2 separate regions of the Homo sapiens genome follow, and region 1 is linked to region 2. Evidence: promoter capture Hi-C in 16 types of primary human blood cells and fetal thymus (Javierre and others, 2016). All regions are on one chromosome and are shown on one strand. Each heading gives the region's core, a stretch centred on a gene start or on the middle of the fragment in contact. The rest is flanking DNA. Distances are from core to core; before and after follow the strand shown. Region 1 overlaps SAMD8 (sterile alpha motif domain containing 8). Region 2 holds the start of AP3M1 (adaptor related protein complex 3 subunit mu 1).

The links. The method cuts DNA at HindIII sites, captures the fragments that hold promoters and counts their contacts. A CHiCAGO score of 5 or more calls a contact.
Region 1: a contact is called between a fragment that was not itself captured here and the fragment with the promoter of AP3M1 in region 2, in 3 of 17 cell types (total CD8 T cells, naive CD4 T cells and total CD4 T cells). The highest score is 5.5, in total CD8 T cells.

Annotation. Positions count from the first base shown.
Region 1 is chr10:75,171,700-75,178,266 of GRCh38, reverse strand. SAMD8 (sterile alpha motif domain containing 8) reads right to left here. Exons shown (of 6, transcript NM_001174156.2): 5 at 2,051-2,201; 6 at 1-1,879. The coding sequence ends at 1,575. Among named protein-coding and RNA genes, the nearest start is that of VDAC2, 36 kb to the left of the region's middle. The HindIII fragment of the contact is 1,002 bases long and covers 1,377-2,378 here.
Region 2 is chr10:74,146,154-74,152,434 of GRCh38, reverse strand. AP3M1 (adaptor related protein complex 3 subunit mu 1) reads left to right here and starts at 1,607. Exons shown (of 9, transcript NM_012095.6): 1 at 1,607-1,680. ADK (adenosine kinase) reads right to left here and starts at 1,214. Exons shown (of 11, transcript NM_006721.4): 1 at 1,092-1,214. The coding sequence starts at 1,156. RefSeq lists enhancers at 864-1,043, 1,454-1,683. The HindIII fragment of the contact is 5,595 bases long and covers 1-1,918 here.

The DNA of each region.
Region 1 (6,567 bases), core at 628-3,127, 1.0 Mb before region 2:
GTGAGAAATACAAAAATGATGTTCACAGCAGACCCAAATTGGGGTCATTCAGCACTAGCTGAGACTTGTTTGCATAATTTCCTTTCCTACCCAATTCATTCAGGCTCCTATGTAGCTTATACAGGGGTGGGAATATGACTCAAAGTGCAAAAATAAAATATTTCACCCAGATAAGGAAGGAGCAAGCTTCTGCTATGTGGCCTAATTGCAGGCCTCAGAATGCCAGCACCTTTTCTAAGTTTTTGTTTTAAAATGGAATGTAAAAACTACATAATTAATATTCCAAGCAGCTTAAGCTCATTAGTTGGGAGTTTAAATTCCAATTCCATAACCATCCTACTGTCATAACTACTGTAAAAAAATCATTAAAAATAAAGTAACAAATGTTATCATAGATGTGAAATTACTTAAAGTACTAAATTTCTAGTGTTGTAAATAGCAGCTAAGTTATATCACTTCCTGACTGCCAAATTAAGACTAAATAGAAAGAATGTATATACACCATTATATTTAAAAGTAAAAAACAACGAAACTTTTTCATATCCAAGTATGTCTGAGACTGTTTACTTCCAACAGCCAAGAATGATAAATTTCAAAAACCAAAAAGTTATATTTTGCGTGCTGTAAGTTTCTTTTCAGGAGAAAACAATTCTTTGCATGCATACCTCCCTACTTAACGGCATTAAGAACTTTATCTAACATCTGGTAAAACACTCCTATTTGGCTCATTTAATAACACCATTAAAAAAGCATAAAATTGAACTGTCATCTAACAACTATAGCACAAAGAAGTTATTCTGGGTACCTATACCACTAACATTAAGCCCATTTATTTTTATGGATGCAGCCATTTTTCCCTCATGAATACTCACTGAGGGTCACACTGGCACTGCATCTTTTGTTGCATCTTTGGTGAAATATGCCAGCCCTACATTTGCATTAATGAGGAGACCAATGGCATCCTAGCCAGTACTCTGTCACGTCATCTATGGCCTCTTTCATTCTCTTCTTATTTCAGGCATCCTGGTATGCTCAGTATATTTAAAGATGGTTCAGAAGGCAAAAACTCTTTGTCAGTAAAACAGATCATGTCCCAGGGTTGCATTTTTTAAAATGAAACAAAGATTAGTCCAAAGAACAAGTACTGTCACTTGTTAGGGTTTCTTCTTCTAAAGGTAATAAGGAGCTTCAAAACATATTATTTCTTGACTAGAGCCCTACTGGAAATCAATGAAAATTCCTCAACCAGCAAACTGCTCAAGTTGACTTGTTTAAAGTTCAATAAGCAAATACTCAACAGGTAAGGGTACAGCCTGACTTCAATCACAACATTAAGTCTTCCTAAAGAGAAGGGGCAGAAAACATCTACTTAAGCTTTCTGTTCAAATAGCTACATAAGGACTCTTGATTGTTCTTTCTTGCTTTTTATAATCATAACTTTGCTCAGAACAGAAAACTTTACTTTGTCAACACATAAGCCAGGCATCTAAGAACAACCTAGGGGGAGAACGCAAAGTTACTCATTTTCAACAACTATTATATATTTAATCACAAATTCATTAGAAAGATAGTATTCATCCAATTAGTCTTTTCATTATTGCTGGTTTTGAAAATGGCCAACAATATTCATTAGGTACTGTGCCATTAACATTGCATTCAAAAAAAGAGAACATGGGAAACCAAATCCTTGCTCTCCTACTCTGCTGATATGCTCTGGTATTGGCCAGAGTATGGTAGTACAAAAAGAGTCTTGTTGTTATATAAAAAGCAATAAACACATCAATAGAATAATGTTCATGGGCAGCCAAGATGAAGAAGATTCCAAAGAGGTTGAGAACCCAGGATAAAGTGTGCAAGAAATTCCAGCTTCTTGGTGTATCTAGGAAAAGGACAGAAAGATCATTTTAAAGCTACATTCCTTCCAATGCTTCTCAGTCACGTTTCTCAGGTCAGGCTGTTTTGCCATTCTTCACAGGATCTGACACCCTTCCCACAGCCTTCACTGCAGCTAGTTACCTAATACGCATAGAAGCACTAAAAAGATACTTACATTCGGTGACAAAGAAATTCAGCATAGTTAGGACGACTGTGTGGCCACTAAACATGTAATCTCCACATGTGTGAACGCCAGTCAGGGTCATACCAAAGCCACTCCAAATGGCAAAGGCTCGATGTAATTTCTCCCATACACTGCCATATATCTATGAAGAAAAGTTATGAATTAGTGCTTCAAATGCTTAGGGAGGTGGGAACTTCCCAACATCCATTCCTATTGAAATTCAAATGCTGAATAACTTAGAAATAAGATCTAAGCCAAAGCATCTAGGCCTTCAGTCTAATGAATTCCAGCCAGACTTCAAGAATGGGTGGGCAAAGCTTGGCTGTACTCAGAAATATTTTGGTAATTAAATGAAATCAGACTGGGCACAGTGGCTCATGCCTGTAATCCCAGCACTTTGGGAGGCTGAGGTGGGTGGATCACCTGATGTCAGGAGTTCAACATCAGCCTGGCCAACATGGCGAAACCCCAACTCTACTAAAAATACAAAAATTAGCCAGGCATGGTGGTGCACACCTATAATCCCAGCTACTAGGGAGGCTAAGGCAGGAGAATCACTTGAACCTGGGAGGCGGAGGTTGCAGGGAGCCGAGATCGCGCCACTGTACTCCAGCCTGGGCGACACAGTAAGACTCTGTCTCAAAAAAATTGATTAATTAATTAAAAATAAATAAATAAATAAATAAATAAATGAAATCACTGTAACATGAACTCCTTTACTAGGAGTTCCTTTATAATAAAAAGTTCTCTATAATACAAAAACATCTCCAAGTTTTTAATCCAATATCACAGTAGTAGTTGCTTGGCTATTCTTGCCAATAAGACATAGGCTATGACAGACGGAGATCAATGTCTACCTTTCAACATCCACTCTCCCCTTCTTCACTGGTAACACAATCTCAAATATATTGAGGCAGCAATGAATTCAGCCAAAATATTGCCTTTCCCAGCCTCCCTTGTAGCTAGGTGTGGCCACGTGACTAAGTTCTGTACAATAAGATCTAAGTAGAAGTGTTAAGGGTTTCTGGGAAGGCTACTTATCAAGGTAAGAGACAACAGTTTTGAGGAAGTCTTTTCTAACTTTTTACCTTTCCTTTTTTTAGTCTACAACTCAGACTCATTCAACTGGAGGTGAAACTCCAGCAACCATCTTGGACCACAAAGTGGCCTTGAGGATACAAGCCAAGTATTGGGATAGCAGACCAGAAAGACAGAAGAATTATGGGGTTTTTTTGGATGACTTCGTAAAATTATCATACCAGACCTTGTGTACCTACCTTCAGACTCTTTTTTGAGAGAGAATAAACCATTGTGTGTTTATTAAACCATAGCCACTTTGAATTTCCAGTTATCAATAGCCAAACCTAATCCCAACTCCCACACATACGCCTAAAAAAGCAGTCCATTTTGAGGAAGACCTTGAGTGACAACTGCTTTACAAAAGAGGGACAGTCACTTAAAAAAAAAAAGCATACTGCAGGGTGCGGTGGCTCACGCCTATAATCCCAGCACTTTGAGAGGCCGAGGTGGGTGGATCATCTGAGGTCAGGAGTTCGAGATCAGCCTGACCAACATGGAAAACCCATCTCTACTAAAAGTACAAAAATTAGCTGGGCATGGTGGCACATGCCTGTAATCCCAGCTACTCAGGAGACTGAGGCAGGAAAATCTCTTGATCCCGGGAGGGGTAGGTTGTGGTGAGTAGAAATCGTGCCATTGCACTCCAGCCTGGGCAACAAGAGCAAAACTCCATCTCAAAAAAAAAAAAAAAAAAAAAGAGGCCAGGCACGGTGGCTCACGCCTGTAATCCCAGCACTTTGGGAGGCCGAGGTGGGTGGATCACAAGGTCAGGAGATTGAGACCATCCTGGCTAACACGGTGAAACCCCATCTCTACTAAATATACAAAAAATTAGCCGGGCTTGGTGGCGGGCACCTGCAGTCCCAGCTACTCGGGAGGCTGAGGCAGAAGAATGGCGTGAACCCGGTAGGTGGAGCTTGCAGTGAACAGAGATCGCGCCACTGCACTCTAGCCTGACTACACTCTAGCCTGGGCGACAGAGCGAGACTCCGTCTCAAAAAAACAACAACAACAACAAAAACCACACACAAAAAGGCATACTAGTATTATTATAATAATACAATTTAATAATAACATAATAATGGTACAAAAAGGTGCTAAAATTTTATGTACATTTACTATGTGCAAGGCATGCTGCTAAGTGCTTTATATGTTACTGCATTTAATTTCCACAGCAATCCTATGAAGTGATTTAATTGTGCAGATGAGGAAACTGGCTTAGAGAGGTCACATAGCTAGTAAGTAACACAGTCAGGATGTGAACCCAGGGAACCCAATTCCAAAGCCCTATGTCTTAAAGATTCTATCAAATATGACCAAAATAAACAACCTCATAGATATCACAATCTCATTAGGAATCTCACCTGCTGATTATACACTGCCCAGCTTTCCCTTTCTGCCTCATTTGAGGGAAAGAAAGGAAGAAGAATTTATTATTAGAGAGAAAGAAAGATAATACACATGGGTTTGGTTCTTCTGTGATCGCTATGAACACGGGCTTAGAGATATATTACTCTTGAGAAAGTAAAAAATCATGTAGTAAATAAACAGAAGAGACTGGTAGGAAAATGTCTCAACCAAGGATAGGAAACTAGTGATGCCAGTCAAAAGGCAGTTATCTCTCCATCCTTTCCCATCTTAAATGTCTCATATATCCTTCCAAAAAATAAAAACTGAAACACAACGGAGCAGAATGAATAGGATGTTTTGACAAGAGAAGGTGTAGAAATATGCATTAAGTGTTTCTAAATTTCAAAAATAGGCATGTTATTGGTTCTGTCCTCAAACCCCTTACTTCCAGGAATGCAATTTCAAGCAATTAATTTATTATAATGAAACTACCTTATGGAATTCACTGTAAGGGATTTGATTTCTATTTATAACAATTACTGCAAATAATACGGGTCAATAAGTAGGTTATATTATAATTCAAAGCAATTAACAGTATTTAGGTCAGATTGGAGTAGAAATATCTATATATAACCAACTGATAAAAACAGTCATTAGAGACAGAAAAAGGGCTGTTTATACCATAGAAGGATGGTATCTAATTTATTTTTGCAGCATATGTTGCAGCCCTATGCACGGATATCCCTCTCCTCAGTGGCTGTCCTACAATTAAATCCCTTAGCTATGGAAAATTTTCTCTTTTCAGTGTAATAAGCTTATATTTTTCTTCTTTAAAATCTGTCCTGGCTAGGTATGGTGGCTCATGCCTGTAATCCCAACACTTTGAGAGGTGGAGATGGAAAGAGCACTTGAAGTCAGGAGCTCGAGACCAGCCTGAGCAGCAAAGTGAAATCCTGTTTCTACAAAAAAAAAATTAAAATTAGGCCAGGCACGGTGGCTCACGCCTGTAATCCCAGCACTTTCGGAGGTCGAGGCAGGTGGATCATGGGGTCAGGAGTTCAAGACCAGCCTGGCCAAGATGGTGAAACCCCATCTCTACTGAAAATACAAAAATTAGCTGGGTGTGGTGGCAGGCGCCTGTGATCCCAGTTACTTGGGAGGCTGAGACAGGAGAATCCCTTGAACCCAGGAGGTGGAGGATGCAGTAAGCCAAGATCGCACCACCGCACGCTAGCCGGGGCGACAGAGAAAGACTCCGTCTAAAAAAAAAAAAAAATCAGTTGGCTGTGGTGGCGTGTGCCTGTGGTCCCAGCTACTCAGAAGGCTGATGCAGGAGGACTGCCTGAGACCAGGAATTTTAGGCTGACAGTGAGCTATGATCATGCCACACTATACTCTAGCCTGGGTGACAAAGCGAGAATCTGTCTTAAAAAAACAATGACTAAAATACAATAAAATCTCCCCTAATCAACTAGAATACTATTTGGGTGAAACGCTTCATACCATGTACACAGCATACTATTTTGAAGAAACTGCGCACACCATGCACAGAAACAAATTCAAAATAAATTAAACATGTAAAATATAAAAAAATAAGAACATAAAAGCATTAGATATTACCTTTCATCAATCAGAATGGCACTGCTGGCAAGAGGGTGAGAAAGCTGACACGCATACATGTTGGCAGTAGTGAAAAACTCATCTTTTCAAGTGTGTATTTCAGCAACACATACCACTTTTTTTTTTTTTTTTGAGATGGAGTCTCGCTCTGTCACCCAGGCTGGAGTGCAGTGGTGTGATCTCAGCTCACTGCAGCCTCTGCCTCCCAGGTTCAAGTGATTCTTCTGCCTCAGCCTCCCGAGTAGCTGGGATTACAGGTGCCCGCCACCATGCCCAGCTAATTATTTGTATTTTTAGTAGAGATGGGGTTTCATCATGTTGGCCAGCCTGGTCTTGAACTCCTGGCCTCAAGTGATCCGCCCACCTTGGACTCCCAAAGTGCTGGGATTACAGGCATGAGCCACCTTGTCTAGCCCATATTATATTTTTTAATGTGCATGTCCTTTAATTCTATAATT
Region 2 (6,281 bases), core at 358-2,857:
TGCATATAGTTGGAATATTTAAAATAAAAATAGAATATCCTGAGGGTTTTTATTTTAAAGTTTATGTTCTTGGTATAAGGTAGGCACACTAACCCTTTGAGGGTAGTAGGAATACATTAAAGGAACTGGCAAGGATTTGTTCACCCTCCATTCAAAGCAGCATGAACACACCACCAGGCCCCTAAGTGTCCTTTTCTTTTCAATTGTGAGTGATTCCTTCCTTTGGAGGTGAAGAAGAGTGATACTGGAAGAAATGGGATATGTCCTGTTTAATCAGGAGTGTCCTAATAGTTTTAAATCAGTTTGATATGTCTATTTTAAGATGGAAAAAAAAATCGCTGCCTTTCAGCGAACATTTCCAAATCATCAAAGACTGCCTGCTTCACTTTATACTTATTAGGAAGGGATATTTTAACAAATGACTCTTCATAAGTAAAAGTTGCAACATCAATCACATGTGAGGCAGGTGTTAGGGGCAGCACTGTCCCCGTTGCTGCCAAAAAGTGTAAATAAAAAAGAGAAATCAACCTTTCCTATCCATTCATCCAAATGCTGCCCCTGCAAAGCATCGGAGGGGTCTGGGTCCCTGGTAGAGGGTCCTCAAAGGTACGGGCTTTCAGAATGTGCACGAAAAGGAAGGTCAACGTGCCCTTCCGCAACACTCTGAAAAATCCCCAAGAATTCTGACTTTGCCCCAGTGTACAGCAGTTGCCGAGCCTCTTTCCCGCCATCCCCCGGGAAGAGAAGGCGGCCGCCTACAGACGCTGCTCCGGTCCGACCCTCCGGGGTCGCACCAGCCCAGCCTGGGCTTGCTCGCAGGTGGCGCGGTCAGCCAGCTCGGTCCCCCTGCGGGCCACGACTGGCGAAGGGCTGCTGGAGCCGGAGCTGCACCAGACAGGCGGGGACTCAGCCAAACGGAGAGAACGTCTGGCAAGGGGTCGCGGCCAAGCGGGCAGCTGGGGGAGGTCCTGCGTGTTGGCCCCAAGCTGGCAGTGAGAGACACCACCCAGCGTCGGGGCCGTGCAACCCCACGTGGGCCCTGGCTTGCTTGCAGCGCCGTCACCCTCCTCCCCAAGTCCGGCAGCGCTCACCTCAGCGCTTGCGGCGCCTCCACCTTCAGCTTTTTGGGCTTCGGCTCCTCCTCAGCAGCTGCCATCTTCGCGCTCCCACCCCACTTTGGCTCTACAGCCCACCTCTGCCATCCACTCTCTGGTCCCGCCCCCTCTTCGCATCACCGCTTTCTCTTCTCCAAATCCCGCCCCTCCAGACTCCGCCCATTCTGTGCCGCTGTCATCCACAATCATTGGCTCTATCCGTCGGCACCAACAGCGAATGCCCCGCCCATTCCTGACCCCGCCTCCCCTACCATGAGGGACCCCAGACTGCGTTAGGCAGCAGATGACCGCCTGAATCTAGATGGAGAGAAACCCACCATTTTTCTAGGCCCTGGATTATGTAGAAGATTTAGATACTAAGCCTCAAGAGACGTCTTTCCTCTCATTTACGGTCTTCCTGCATATTTAAAATTTCTAATACGGTAGACAGAGTCGGTGTCTTTGAAGCTGTTAATCAGGCAATTTCCTGGGCACTCCAGCTGCGGGTCCTCGCGGCCTTCTCGGCTTCTCCAGCTTCGGTAGGAGAGGATCCGGCGCCGAATCACTGACTGGCACAGGTGTTGGGGTGAGTGTGAGGGGCGGGAAATCTGTGGACTGGGGACAGCTCCAAAACCCGGGAGTAGGCTGAATAGCTGGGGCCCCCGACTCCGATCTGGGCTCTAGGAGCGTCTTTGGTGCTGTTGGCCCGGGCCTCGCTTCCCCCCCACTCCCGGCCTTCCGGGCTTTCTCGCCAGCAAGGCCAGAAGGGAGCGGTCCACCTGCAGCCCAGTGTTCTCAGGCGCCTGAGCCCCGGAGGTCAAGCTTACTGGGTTCCCCCTCTATAGTGAGCTGGAGTACAGACGGCAGGAATCTCAGTCCCAGGTTTCTGCTTTGGAGGACAAAACCCCAAACGGACCTGAGCAGACGTCCTGTTAGCGGGTGGTGCCTGGAAGAGCCTGGGGTGAGGAATGCAGTGAGAAGGGTGTTGCAGTTCTTCAGGAGAGAGGTAACGGGGTTCTAAGCTGAGCAGGTGGCAGTGAGTGTGGAAGAGTGACGGGCGATGTGGCTGTTTGTATTTGGTAGATTTGTTTGAACCTGAAACTTACAGCCTTATGTGTGATTAAGAAGATGGTGCCAGTGACAGGAGGAGGTATTTTATGGAGTTTGAGTTTTATCGAATTTGAAACAGTGGTTTACATGGAGATTGTAGAAAGACTTTAAAAAAAATTATGAGAATTAAGCCCGAAAGACTTTCAAGGTGAGACCCAAAACAGATGAAGTTTCATATAAAAGGGTAAGAAGTATTTTTGTTTAGGAGAAAGTTATCAATGACATAAAATGCTGCAATGGTCAGAGGAGGAAGCTGAAATCAGAATAGGTCGTTGGATTTTATAATTAGAAAGTCATTGAGCTGTTTGAGAGAGATGCTTTAATAGTAACTGAGGAAAGACTGCAAGTGTAGACCAATCCTTCATCATTTGGGGCATGAAGCAAGATTATTGAGAGTGGCAAGGTGGGGGAAAGTTTGGGGTTTGTTTTAAAGAATACAAGATATCTATTTGGGGGCAGGAAGCAAGCAACTATTTGAAGATTCAAGAAAAAGTCTTGTCTCCCAGAAGAGAAGGAAAGGAATGGGATCAAGTTACAAGTGAAAGGATTAATTTGGGAAAGACAGAGGGACACTTTCAATTGACACTATAGGAGAAGTGAAGTGAATGAGGTTAATGAAGAATTATCTTAATTTACGAATCTTGGCCAGGCGCGGTGGCTCACGCCTGTAATCTCAGCACTTTGGCAGGCTGAAGCGGGCGGATCACAAAGTCAGGAGTTCGAGACCAACCTGGCCAACATAGTGAAACCCTGTCTCTACTAAAAATACAAAAATTAGCCAGGTGTGGTGGCACACGCCTGTAGTCCCAGCTACTTGGTAGGCTGAGGCAGGAGAATCCCTTGAACCCGGGAGGCGGAAGTTGCAGTAAGCTGAGACCTCACCACTGCACTCCACCCTGAGCGACAGAGCGAGACTCTGCCTCGAAAAAAAAAAAAAAAAAAAAAAAAAAAAAAAAAAAAAAACCTTACGTATCTTTAGGAAAGCTCTCTTTGCAACAAGATTATATTTTCTTACTTAATCTTATGATTTTTATTTCTAACCATTTAATATAATATACGGCCAGGCACGGTAGGGCTCATGCCTGTAATCCCAGCACTTTGAGAGGCTGAGGTGGGTGGATCACGAGGTCAAGAGATCGAGACCATCCTGGCAAATATGGAGAAACCCCGTCACTACTAAAAATATAAAAATTATCTGGGCGTGGTGGCACGTGCCTGTAGTCCCAGCTACTCGGGAGGTTGAGGCAGGAGAATCGCTTGAACCCAGGAAGCGGAGGTTGTGGTAAGCTGAGATTGCGCCACTGCACTCCAGCCTGGCAATAGAGTAAGACTCCGTCTCAAAAAAAAAAAAAACAAACCAATATACTATGGGCAGATGGAGTGCGGTGGCTCACGCCTGTAATCCTAGCACTTTGGGTGGGTGAGGCGGGAAAATCACTTGAGGCCAGGAGCTGGAAATCAGCCTGGGCAACATAGCGAGACTCCATCTCTACAAAAAATTTAAACATTAGCCAGGCTTTGTGGCATGTGGTTGTAGTCCTAGCTACTCAGGAGGTAGAGGCAGAATGAGGCAGAAGGATCACTTGAGCCCAGGAGTTCAAAGTTACAGTGAGCTATGATTGGTCCACTGCACTTCAGCCTGGGCAACAAAACAAGACCCTATCTCTTAAAAAAAAATACATATACACATACGCTATGGGAGTTCTTTGCAGATTTAAATATTTTTAAGTAGCTCAGTACTGTGTCAATTCATGAGTAGCACATGGTATTTACAGAGAAGAGGACTTCTCTCTCCCTTTGGAAATGACCTCTCTCCCATTACACAGAGAAGGAGAGCCATCATCTGCCTGCAGTCAAGTATACAAACCTTCCCTTCAATCTGAAGAGTAGAAAGTGTTCCTTCTCCTTAGAGAAGGCAAACCCTTTGACCTAGTCTCTCAGTAGCATCCTCTCCTGCTATGTCAGGGTCCTCTTTCCGTTTTTCCCTCTCTCCTATGTCAGCTTTTCCCCCTCTATTCACACCTTTCCTTCAGCATTTGAATGTATTCTTCCTTCACTTTATGAACTGCTGCATTTATTTTCCTGTCTTTTCATCCTCTTCACAGCTAGACTTCTTGAATCTACTCTACATATCTCTATTTTTTTACACTTCTTGCTATTTATTTCCCAGCCCACTGCAATGTCTTATTTCTAGCATTCCACTGAACTACCACCAAAACTATTTTTTTTTTCTGAGATGGAGTCTTGCTCTTGTCGCCCAGGCTGGAGTGCAATGGCAATCTCGGCTCACTGCAACCTCCGCCTCCAGAGTTCAAGTGATTCTTCCGCCTCAGCCTCCCGAGTAGCTGGGATTACAGGCGCCTACCACCATGCCCAGCTAACTTTTGTATTTTTAGTAGAGACAGGGTTTCGCCATGTTGGCCAGGCTGGTCTCGAACTCCTGACCTCGTGATCTGCCCGCCTCAGCCTCCCAAAGTGCTGGGATTACAGGTGTGAGCCACCGCACCCAGCCCACCAAAACTACCTTTACCAAGATCACCAGTGTCCTCTGTGTGTTAAATCATGCATTCTCAAAGCAGATAAAAACTGCTTCTTGTGAGGTGAAAAAAATATAATACTCTTTTTATGTGTAAAGCACAAATACAATACATAAACAGAGAATATTCTGTGGTATTAAAATTTTATGGTGATATTAATTAGCTTCATTTAATTATTCCACATTTCATAAATCATAACATCTGGTACCCCTAAATATATACAACTATAATTTGTCAATTTACAGTTGAAAAAGAAAGAATAATAAAAAGTTTTATGGGTGAGGAATTTGATTGGCAGGGTGGTGAGAAGATGGAGTCTAAAAGGGCTCCTTAGCAGGCATTAAGGAAAAGAAAGTTTAAAAAACACTCTTAAATCAACAGACATTTTCAATTCTTTTTTGTTGTTGTTGAGATGGAGTCTCGCTCTGTCATCCAGGCTAGAGTGCAGTGGCGCCATCTCGGCTCACTGCAGCCTCCACCTCCCGGGTTCAAGCGATTCTCCTGCCTCAGCCTCCAGAGCAGCCGGGATTACAGGCACCCACCACCACACCCAGCTAATTTGTTGGTATTTTTAGTGGAGATGGGATTTCACCATGTTGGCCAGGCTGGTCTCGAACTCCCGAGCTCAGGTGATACTCCCACTTTGGCCTCCCAAAGTGCTGGGATTATAGGTGTGAGCACCACGCCCAGCTGACATTTTCAATTCTCGTAGCTTAACCTCTTTGTGCCATGTAACAGTATTTACCACTCCATTCTTCTGGAAATACACTAATAAGCTATAGTTACTAAAAACCACCCTGTTTTTTTTTTTTTCTTAGGACTCTTCAGTCACATCTTGGTCATTCTTTAGGTCCACTTCCTTGACCCACCTCCTACTCAAATGTTGGAGTTCCTGCCATAAGCTCTCTTCATACTATGCACATTCTTTCTTTTGTTTCAATTCTCCTTTTGATTAATTCCCATTAACAAAAAATCCTGATTACTTACAATTCTGATTCCAATCTGGCTTCTCTAAAGCACCAGAAGGGTATATATAATAGTTTTTTGAATATATTTATTTGGGTCAGATGTATCCAGAATTGGTCAAATTACACAGGACCAGGCCAAGTGACACATCTCTCTCATCTCCACACACCCCCTCCTCCAAGCCTAAATGTTTTTTAGCACAAAACCTAAATGTTTCTCTTATCTTTTCACTGTACCCCATCCTCATAGTCAAGACTCTAGACCAGGCCATCACCACTCATCTCCCAACTGGTGTCACAGTGTTCAGTTACCGATTATCCAGTTTCCGCAGTGTAATTAGTATGATCTTTCTAAAAATGTAAATCGGATTGCATGATTAATTAAAAAAATTATAAAATGACTTTACATTGCACTAAGAATAAAGTCCAAACTCCTTAACAAGTTTAGCATGCTCCATGAACCAATCAGTCTCTGCTTACCTCCTTGTCCAGTTTCATCTCCCCTCTTCCCTCCACCTTCCATATTTGCTAAATTTATACTGGATTTATTTGTCTTGTGTTCTCTCTCACCTCTA